Linked DNA regions of Homo sapiens: region 2 is linked to region 1. The links are contacts of gene promoters, found by promoter capture Hi-C in human tissues and cell types (Jung and others, 2019). All regions are on one chromosome and are shown on one strand. The core of a region is centred on a gene start or on the middle of the fragment in contact, and the rest is flanking DNA. Distances in the headings are between cores, read along the strand shown.

Evidence for each region. The method cuts DNA at HindIII sites, captures the fragments that hold promoters and counts their contacts. A contact is called where the count stands out against the background at its distance.
Region 2: a contact is called between a fragment that was not itself captured here and the fragment with the promoter of SHCBP1L in region 1, in 6 of the 25 tissues and cell types used here (bladder, heart left ventricle, liver and 3 more).

Annotation. Positions count from the first base shown.
Region 1 is chr1:182,949,732-182,955,176 of GRCh38, forward strand. SHCBP1L (SHC binding and spindle associated 1 like) reads right to left here and starts at 3,435. Exons shown (of 10, transcript NM_030933.4): 1 at 2,998-3,435; 2 at 1,587-1,736. The coding sequence starts at 3,402. The HindIII fragment of the contact is 8,802 bases long and covers 561-5,445 here.
Region 2 is chr1:183,204,001-183,209,445 of GRCh38, forward strand. It overlaps LAMC2 (laminin subunit gamma 2), which reads left to right. Exons shown (of 23, transcript NM_005562.3): 2 at 3,881-4,069. Among named protein-coding and RNA genes, the nearest start is that of LAMC2, 20 kb to the left of the region's middle. The HindIII fragment of the contact is 8,578 bases long and covers 1-5,445 here.

The sequences.
Region 1 (5,445 bases), core at 2,185-4,684:
TGAAATATTAACTAATAGAGTCTTATTGAAAAATTAACTAATCCCAATAATCTTTTACATTCCTTTGTAATCTCTGTGACTGAAAATATGGTATTCTTTTTTTTTTTTTTTTTGAGATGGGGCCTCACTATGTCACCCAGGCTCACTGCAACCTCTGCCTCCCAGGCTCAAGCGATCCTCCCACCTCAGCCTCCTGAGTAGCTGGGACCACAGGTGTGTGCCTGTTTTTCTGGTAGAGATGGGGTTTCACCATGGTGCTCAGGCTGGTCTCTAACTCCTGAGCTCAAGTGATTCACCTACCTTGGCCTCCCAAAGTGTTGGGACTACAGGCGTGAGCCACCACGCCCAGCCGCCATTCTTTATCTGTAAAACTGACACTGACTTTTCCACAGAACACATATTTTTAAATTGTTTTCAAGTAGTATATAATACAACAAGTTACATACATAAGTTTTTCTTGTATCCAAAAATACAGATTTAAACTAACTATCTGGGGTAAGGGTATCATTTGTGGTTATAAATATTAATTTCTATATAAGGATAATTGACCTTTAACAGAATCAAACATGCCACAATGTTTAGCCTACAGGCCTAACAAAGAAAAATCTTATTAGGGCCGGGTGCAGTGACTCATGCCTGTAATCCCAGCACTTTGGGAGGCTGAGTCAGGCAGATCACGAGGCCAGGAGTTCGAGACCAGTCTGGCCAACATGGTGAAACCCCTTCTCTGCTAAAGATCACAAGGTTAGGAGTTCAAGACCAGCCTGGCCAACAGGGTTAAACCCCGTCTCTACCAAAGATACAAAAAATTAGCTGGGCATGGTGGCATGCGCCTGTAATCCCAGCTACTCGGGAGGCTGGGGCAGGAGAATCGCTTGAACCGGGGAGGCAGAGGTTGCAGTAGCCGAGATCACACCACTGCACTCCAGCCTGGGCGACAGGACGAAACTCTGTTTCAAAAGAAAAAAAAAAGAAAAATCTTATCAGATAAAGGCTTGGAAGATATTATACTAGAAGGGTACTTTTTTTTTTTGAGACGGAGTCTCACTCTGTTGCCCAGGCTGGAGTGCAGTGGCATGATCTCAGCTCACTGCAAGCTCCGCCTCCTGGGTTCACACCATTCTCCTGCCTCAGCCTCCCTAAAAAGGGTACTTTTCAAAGGAAAAAAATTTCAAATTTTCCCAGTAGTTTTCTGATCCATTTCTTTTTTTTTCCTCATCTGAACTAAACTTCTTAATTCAGATAAATGAAGATTAAAGGGAAAAGACAGAAAAAGAAGGCCCAAGTTTGTTAAAGACTGAATCACTAATTTTATAAGAAATGCATTTTTGTTATTTTTACATTAGTTGAGCAAAAACTAGGCTAATAAATATTGTCTGATACTACTAGATTCCATTTAATGATAATGGTTTACAGGCACTAATATTCCCCTAACCTTCTTTTTACACTATTAATTTTCTCGGAAACTTAAAACAGAAGTAAAAATGTGTCAACTCTTGTGTATCAATCTCCAAATAATAAAGTCATATTTTAGTCTTTAAAAGAACTGATTCAAAAAGAACAAAGATCAAATAAAATTTATTTACCTCAACCAATATACCAACAAAAGGGATAGAAGCTTCTTCATATTTCACAAAGAATACACTGGGATTAGTCTTCCAGACTCCAAGCCATTTGTCTTTCAACTTTAATTTTTCTGATAGGTATTTACCCATAACTTCATCAGCATCTTCTGCCTAACAAGAGAAAAAATGGATCTACATATAAATATATGAAATTATAGATTTTAAACTAAGTGGTTTTTTTTTTTTTTACTGATTTCTATTTTAAAATGGAACCAATATAGCCTTAAATAATGAATGACCTGGAAAATTACAGATTTTAACTGAAACCGCATCTAGTGGAAAACATCACCAACAAAAAATTAAACTTAAAAGAGATCTATTCACTCGAATAATTCATAGATAAGACAGCTAGTTATTGTTTATGTCTTAATTTTCAACTTTTTATAAATATCACTGCAGTGAATATGCAGGTACACAAATTCTTCTGCTACAACTTAAAAAAATAGGTTAGAAACATGAAATATTTGCTCTATTCCGTTTTATCAGATATGTATTTTCTATAAAAGAAAGTCATGCCACCAGGCACGGTGGCTCATGCCTGTAATCCCAACACTTTGGGAGGCCGAAGCGGGCAGATTACCTGAGGTCGGGAGTTCGAGTCCAGCCTGACCAACTGGAGAAACCCCATCTGTACTAAAAAAAAATACAAAATTAGCCAGGCGTGGTGGCTCATGCCTGTAATCCCAGCTACTCGGGAGGCTGAGGCAGGAGAATTGCTTGCACCGGGAGGCGGAGGTTGTGTGAGCCGAGATTGCCCCACTGCATTCCGGCATGGGCAACAAGAATGAAACTCCGTCTCCAAAAAAAAAAAAAAAAAAAAAAAAAAAAAAAAAAAATATATATATATATATATATATATATATATATATATATATATATACACACACACACACACACACACACATTTATATATATATATACACACACATATATATCATGCCGCATTGTGGACTGCTGAGTGGGAAGTACCCTTAAAGTAATTTCTAGCATTCTAGTGTAAAAGTCAAGGCTAAGTGATCTTACTCATGTTTGGACATAAACTGTTAAATAAAGGTACCAAGATTCATGCCTGTGCAATGATAAGGCCAATATATCTTCATTTTTTAGGAGCTCTCAGAAAATTCTCTCTCAGGGCTGTCCCGTTACCTGACGAATTTTGTCGGAAACTCGAACCTTAACTCCTCTAGGGCAGGACGCGGGCACCTCTAACAAGGTGAACGCTCTATACATGTTGACTCCATTTACTTTTTTGAAACGCAAGTTTTCGTTGTGCCCTGTGGATCCCCATCCGCCTAAGAGGGAAGCCCCAGATGCCTGTCCCCAGGTTCCGACGAGCTTCCGACCGTAGTCTTCCTGTCCCGGATCCGCTCACCTTACAGTCCTGCAGCACTTCGTCGCAATACAGCGACACCTTCTCGTCCCGCCACATCCCCCTCATACGGGACACGCAGACTGGGGGCAGGGGCTGCGCCTCCTCTTCATCCTCAGGCACTGGCAGCAGGGGCTCCTCCGCCGCCGCCGCCGCCGCCTCTCCCGTGTCCTCGGCCTGAGCCGCGGGCAGGCGCTGGAGCCGCAGCCTGGCCGTCTCCCGGCCCGCTTTCCCCTTCACCGGGCGAGGGGAGGCCACCACCGACCGCACTGGGATCGCGGTGCCCTTCAGGGTGGTCGCGGCCGCCGTGTCCCCGGAGACAGCGGAGGCGGACTTCTCGCCTCGCCTGTCCGGGCTGATGGTGCGGAATGAGTCCGCGGGCACCGAGGCCTTGGAGCCCGACGCCATCTCCTCAGCAGCCCGAGGGCCGAGGCAGCCGTTGGCCACTTTTCCCGCCCTCGGCCGCTCTGGCCAATAGGCGCTCTGCGCTTCAGGCCCGCAACGAGCGGCTGCTCGAGGGCGTCCCGCCGGGTGGGGTGTTGCGGCTCTGGGAGGGATGTGAGGCGCGGCCCAGAGCTAGGGGGTGCGGGGCCTGCGGGTAGAGCGCGGGGTCCTGCGGACGCATTCAGGGTGCTGGGGGGCGCTGCTCAGAGCTAGGTGGGACAGGGCGAAGCGCCTGGGCTCAGGACAGGGGTGGGGGGGCCCGGGTCAGTGTTGGGTGCGGCTCCGTGCCGAACCCCCACCAGGTGCCGCACACACCAGAAGGTGCCAGACGAGCCCAACGCAATGGCTCTAACCCCAGCCCTCTGTCTCCCCCAGGGGAGGTTTCCTTAGGGTCCTCATACGTTTCAGGGTGATTATGAGTCACCTTCCAGGTCATCAGGACCTAAAAAAATGCTCCACCTACCACTCCACAAACAAAGCCTGAAAGAAAATTTATTTTCATACTGGGAGGTGACACTAACTGGAACCCTCTGGCTATTACTAGAGGAAACCCTAGTGACAAATCCAGCAACCTAGATTTCCCTTTTAGCCCCCACCTATTACAGGGTTCACCAAATAGGATTTCCTTTACATTTTAAATAGGACTTTCACTTTTTGCCAAGATGTGGTCATACCAAGGAGAAGTTAGTCTGTTTTCTTGTCTCTGTTGTGCTATTCAAAATTCTCACATAAAAGATTATATTATATAACTGTTAAACTGGACAACAACTTCCAGCTGGGAGTGATGTGTGCAAACTATGAACACTTTCACGATAAAAGTCTGTTCCAGATCATACATTTTGGAGAACAACAGAGACCACTCACTTCTGGTATTTTACTGTTGAATGTATATTGAGCCAATTGGAATTAACGTTTGTTCACAGTCTAGCTGTGAAATACTGCACTGAAGCTGACAGCTCCCAAGGAGAACAGCATTGGGAAAACACCTGCCTTCCTTCACACTCGTCTGGAAGAACACTATGTTAAATTCTGAGTTTATTTTGAGGAAAATATTAACATCATGTGGCTGGGCGCGGTGGCTCACGCCTGTAATCCCAGCGCTTTGGGAGGCCGAGGCGGGCGGATCACAAGGTCAGGAGATCGAGACCATCTTGGCTAACACGGTGAAACCCCGTCTCTACTAAAAATACAAAAAATTAGCCGGGCGCAGTGGCGGGCGCCTGTAGTCCCAGCTACTCGGGAGGCTGAGGCAGGAGAATGGCGTGAACCTGGGAGGCGGAGCTTGCAGTGAGCCGAGATTGCGCCACTGCAATCCGGCCTAGGCTAAAGAGCGGGACTCCGTCTCAAAAAAAAAAAAAAAAAAAAAATTAACATCATGTTACTGTAGTTTAGGGAATAATTACAACATGCATCATGTTTCAATTCTATTCTTACTTTATTCCTTTCGTTGAGTCCTGGACTTTGTTTATAACAATACTAACTGCATATTTCACTCACACACACACACACAAATGTTTTACTCTAGTGTTTCTTCAAAAGTTTGTTTTTGATAAATTATGGGTTTTTTAATTCTTAGGTTCTGAATAATAAAGACCACCTGTCCTGGGCCAAAGTTTAAAAACAGCAACAGCTCCCTTTTCCTCCAAAAGGCAAATACTTGTTAGAAATCTGTTACATGCCACACAATGCGTAGATGCCACAGTTATAGAGGTAAAAGACCAAATCCCTGCCCTCGTAATCCTAGTGAAAGATACAGATGGGTCAGTAGATGATTGTGTTTGGTAAGGACCATGCTTTTATTTATGTAAATACACATAAATACATACATATATATATTTATATACACACAAATAATTTGTATTTATTTATGTGTGTATATATATGCGTGTGTGTGTGTGTGTGTGTGTGTATATATATACACATATATTCCACATTGTAGGAGAAAAGGACCTTTCTTCTCCAAAGAAGGGATACTTAAGCTGAGTTTTTAAAACAACTTTTTTCTTT
Region 2 (5,445 bases), core at 1-2,500, 250 kb after region 1:
GACAATGGGGCAGGCATGGTAGCTCATGCCTGTAATTCCAGCACTTTGGGAGGCTGAGGTGGGAGGATTGCTTGAGGCCAGGAGTTTAAGACCAGCCTGGGCAATACCACGAGAACCTGTCTCTACCAAAAAGTAACACATTTAGTTGAGTGTTGTGGCATGCATCTGTGGTCCCAGCTACTCGGGAGGCTGAAGTGAGAAGATGGCTTGAGCCCGGGAGGTTGAGGCTGCAGTGACCCGTGATCACACCACTGCACTCCACTCTGGGTGACAGAGTGAGACTCTGTCTCAAAAATAACACAAAAGAAAATAGGCTGGGTATGGTGGTGCACACCTGTAATTCCCAGCACTTTGAGAAGCCAAGGTAGGCGGATTGCTTGAATCCAGGAGTTTACGACCAGACTGGGCAACATGGTGAAACCCCGTCTCTACAAAAACAAAAAACAAACAAACAGAAAAAAAAAAAAAAACCACTACAAAAATTAGTTGGGCATGGTGGCACACGCCTCTATTCCCAGCTACTTGGGAGGCTGAGGTTGGAGAATCGCTTGAGCCCAGGAGGTTGAGGCTACAGTGAGCTGAGATTGTGACACAGCACTCCAGCCTGGACAACAGAGTGAGATCCTGTCTCAATAAAAATAAAAATTAAAATAAAAGAAGGACACCTATTATTTTCAAAGTAGAGCTTTAGAGGAGGAGACAGAAGAGGGATGTGATAGAAAAAGATTATAACAAGTTTATATATTTTGAAAAGATTGCTCTGAATAAATATATAATGAGCTGCCCTTATGAAGTTAATTTTTACCACCACAAAGCATGTTCTTTTTTTTTTCTTTTTTGAGACAGAATTTTGCTCTTGTCACCCACAGTAGAGTGCAATGGCACAATCTCAGCTCACTGCAACCTCCTCCTCCCAGGTTCAAGTGATTCTCCTGCCTCAGCCTCCCAAGTAGCTGGGATTACAGGCACCTGCCACCACTCCCAGCTAATTTTTGTATTTTTAGTAGAGACGGGGTTTCACTATGTTGGCCAGGCTGGTCTCAAACTCCTGACGTCAGGTGATCCACCCTCCTTGGCCTCCCAAACTGCTGGGATTACAGGCGTGAACCACTGTGCCCAGCCCATGTTCTAAATAAGAAAGGCACAATGAAAAATTTGTAGTTATTTTGAGATTGCTTCCAAAAGGCATCCAGGGCAGGGAGGGCATTGGCTCATTGGGTTAGCCAGATGAAGAACCTCGCAAGGACTGCTGAACAGTGAATTTAGCTCTTGTACGTGCATAGTCATGTACTTGGTACAAATTTCACAGCACATGACAGCTGTGTGGCACATCTGTTGGAGATCCAAAAAATCAGTTTCACAAGCATTGGTTGGGAAAGATTCAGCTTGGCACTAGTTCTGAGAAAAGCCCTGGGACTTTGAATTGTGTGCAAATGTAATATGCTGTAAGTTCACTGAAATGTTAGTCTTTGCCCATGGGATAAAAATATCTAGTCCTGTTACAAGCCAAGCTGTTTAAATCACACTTGCAGTACTGGTCATATGAAGAAGGATACTGGAAATTAGAATTTGTTCCTAGGATGGTAGTCAAGAAGAATCTAGAAATTATGACATAGGAAGTGGTTGAAAGACTTGGAGATGACAGATCTGTAGTCCAACTTGAACAGGAAAAGACTAAGGAGGGAGATGCCATAGCTATCTTCAGATTCACAAAAGCCTGATGACGCAGGGCCCTTTGGATGTAAAACAACACCCAAAGATTATGTCTGTTGGATAAATAAAAGAATAAAAAGAGAGTAGGGGTGTGTGTGTGTGTGTGTCTGTGTGTGCCTGAGTGCTGTATGTATCTGTGTGTGTTGTGTGTGTATGTTTTCAGGCAAGAGCAAAAACACATGATGAAAATTACAGAAAGAGAGGTAGATTTAAAACACCATATAAAAATGTTACTGTTTGTAACAACCAAGCTGAATGACCCTCTATTAGGGATTTATAAAAAGAATGTCTACATGCAATGGTAAACTCAATCTTGAGAAGGAACATAAAATGGAAAGATGAGGGCTTTGGAGTCAGACACATCTGGGAGCAAATTACATCTTTGCCATTTAGCTGTGTGACTTTAGGCAAGATACCTAGCCTCTCTGAGTATTTGTTTTTCCATCTATTAAATGGGGATAATAAAACCCATGTTAAAATGTTGTGAGAATTAACTGAGCTGTCGAATGTAAAGTCCTAGAAACAGTATGCTTTGGATAAGTGTTAGCTGACTTTTCTAGATTAGATGTCATCCAAAGTAGAAAGAGTGAGTTATAGAAATTACTGTAAGGCAGTCACTTAGCAGGTCCATTAGATGTACGTGGTCACCGCTGGGCACGGTGGCTCACGCCTGTAATCCCAGCACTTTGGGAGGCCGAGGCAGGCGGATCACCTGAGGTCAGGAGTTTGAGACCAGCCTAGCCAACACTGGCGAAACCCCATCTCTACCAAAAATATAAAAATTAGCTGGGCATGGTGGTGCGCACCTATAATCCCAGCTACTTGGGAGGCTGAGGCAGGAGAATCACTTGAACCCAGGAGGCAGAGGTTTCAGTGAGCTGAGATCATGCCACTGCACTCCACACTCCAGCCTGGGCGACAGAGCAAGACTTGGTCTCAAAAAAAAAAAAAAAAAGATGTACATTGTCCCCTTGTATTGTCAGTGCCTGACACAGAGCCTGCACAGGGAGCCACTCAGCAGGTGATGGCACATCTGTTGACTTTATTGTCAGCACTATGGTTAAGTCACGCCCTAGAAACATATTCTCAATATGGCAGCATGGCCAACAGAGACAGCCTGTGTAGGGAAGGGAGGTTGGTGTTCGCATCAGGCAGAGGTTCAAATCTCAGTTCTCCACTGGGTGGAGTTACTTCACCTTTCCGAGCTGCATGTTTCTCTTCTGAGGCAGTACGTGTTTCATGGAGTGAGTGATGAAATCGCATATGCAAAGGCATTTGATATTCTTTTCCCAGAGGGATCCTCTTTACAATCCAGGGAGGCAGATAATGCAGTCTGTATGGAAGAAAAAACAAGATTCAGAAAATTGAAGTGATGTGCCCAAGGAAATAGCAGAATTGGTATTTGATTCTTTCCTTTTAACCTGAAGGCCCATCATCTCTCTCTCCGAGACCATGACGGAAACATTTTTTGGTGTCTCAGTGTGCCGGGTACTATGCTGGGTGTTTCCGTGTTTCGCTTCTTTGCTGTTCGGGTCCTTATGGAGATGTTAGTCACTTTGCGAGTCTCTTTGGAACATCTGCAGGATGGGCTTCCTAGATACTTGAGAAAGGTCATTCTTCATGGGACACTTGGCTTTGGGAGGAGACATGTGCCCAGACGGTCACGTCCACTCCTTTGCCTTGACGGGCACCGGTGGGATGGGTGTTGTGTATCTTGAGCAGCGACACCATCGGCTAATAGCTGTGCTGAGTCCGCAGCTGCCCATCCTCAGGTCTCCGTGAGCCCACACACTTGCTCTGTGGGATTGCAGTGTTTTGAAATGAACTCCTTGCAAACATTTAAATCAGAAATATCCGCATAAAAATGTAATTTAACATTTTGGGTTTCTCTCGAGGAACTGGACAGTCTGGCAACCCTGAGCCCATGTTCTCCCAGACAGCAGCCCACCAGCATTGCATAGTGCCTACTTCCTTTAAGTGGAGCAGGCGTCCCCGGGGTCCCTGCACTGCCAATTGCACTCCCATATCTTCCTCCCGCAAGGAGTGTAGGTTACCATATAGTACTCATGCATAATTTCTATCAATAATAACATAAACACCTGCTAGAACAGTTCCTGAGGTGTTTTTTTTTTTTTTTGACGATCTCTTTTGTATGCTTCCTCCCCAGTCTGTGATTGCAATGGGAAGTCCAGGCAGTGTATCTTTGATCGGGAACTTCACAGACAAACTGGTAATGGATTCCGCTGCCTCAACTGCAATGACAACACTGATGGCATTCACTGCGAGAAGTGCAAGAATGGCTTTTACCGGCACAGAGAAAGGGACCGCTGTTTGCCCTGCAATTGTAACTCCAAAGGTAGCTGAAAAGGACGGAAAGAGGGAGAGGGAGATGGAGCAGTGGGGAGACAAGAGGGAAGGAAGGAAGGAGGAAAAGAAGAAGGAAGGGAACAACGGAGGAAAAAGAAAGAAAACAGGGAAAGCAAGCAGGCCAAGAGGGAGATGTTCAACCTCACCAACAACTGGGAACCTACCAGACATTGGTCTTTTTAGCAGTTTCAATCTGAAAGGAAACATGTTTCTCTTAAGTAGGGGTTGGTGGAACCAGTTGGGACCTTGAGGGCATGTTGTCTTGAATTCTAATACAAAGAGTCACATTATTAACTTTTCCAGGCAGGTGACAGTCTTTTGCAAGCAGATGACAAAGGAAGCTTGCACTCTTTCAGGGATAGTTCTTCATATCCATAGCCATCCATTTGACCAACCTCTTGAAAAATAAGGAATTAGAAAGATCTGTTTCTAGTGCTGTGCTAGGTGCTAGCAATATGAAGTTGTACTAATAAAGGAGACAGACAAGTAAACAGGAAAATTGAAGTCTTTCATTAGGTTGCTAAAAAGATAAAACAAAATAACAAATAGGAAACACCTAATGGGGTGGCTGGTTCATAGGAGAGCTAGTTTGTTTTTTTGTTTTGTTTTGTTTTTTTGAGACAGGGTCTCACACTGTTGTCCAGACTGGAGTGCAGTGGTGCCATCTCGGCTCACTGCAACCTCCGCCTCCTAGGTTCAAGCGATTCCCCTGCCTTAGCTTCCTGAGTAGCTGGGATTACAGGCACCCACCACCACGCCCAGCTAATTTTTTGTATTTTTAGTAGAGATGGGGTTTCATTATGTTGGCCAGGCTGGTCTCGAGTGCCTGACCTCGTGATCCACTTGCCTCAGCCTCCCAAAGTGCTAAGACTACAGGTGTGAGCCACCGCGCCTGGCTAGTTGTTTTTTTTTTTTTTTTTAAAGTATCCCACACAGTGCTATATTCATATAACTGTAGGTCTTTGCTGTACACACAGATACATACACTGTGCTGTATTCATTGTGGACAGACAGTAAAGACAAGTTAGTAAATATAAAGGGGGAGAGAGAGGTGGTTCTGTAAATAAGATTTTTTTTTTAAACGGTTCATTTGTCTATTATCTTTCTGGCATTATCTACTTTTCTTTGCTAGAAAGTGTTTAACAGCATCCTGTGATAAATATTGATCCACTTAAAGCATACAGCCTTATTGCATGGCAATGACTTAGTGTAGTAGGTCTGTGGAACCAACTGATAGCTGCAGCTTGAAAGAATCTAAAAATGGGCAGATTCTGGTGCAGCCATGAGTTGCTGGTAGAGTGGTTTGGGAGTCTTATAGAAAACTGGGTGACCCTGTGGTGAGATAGGCCCATATCGCAGCAGTCA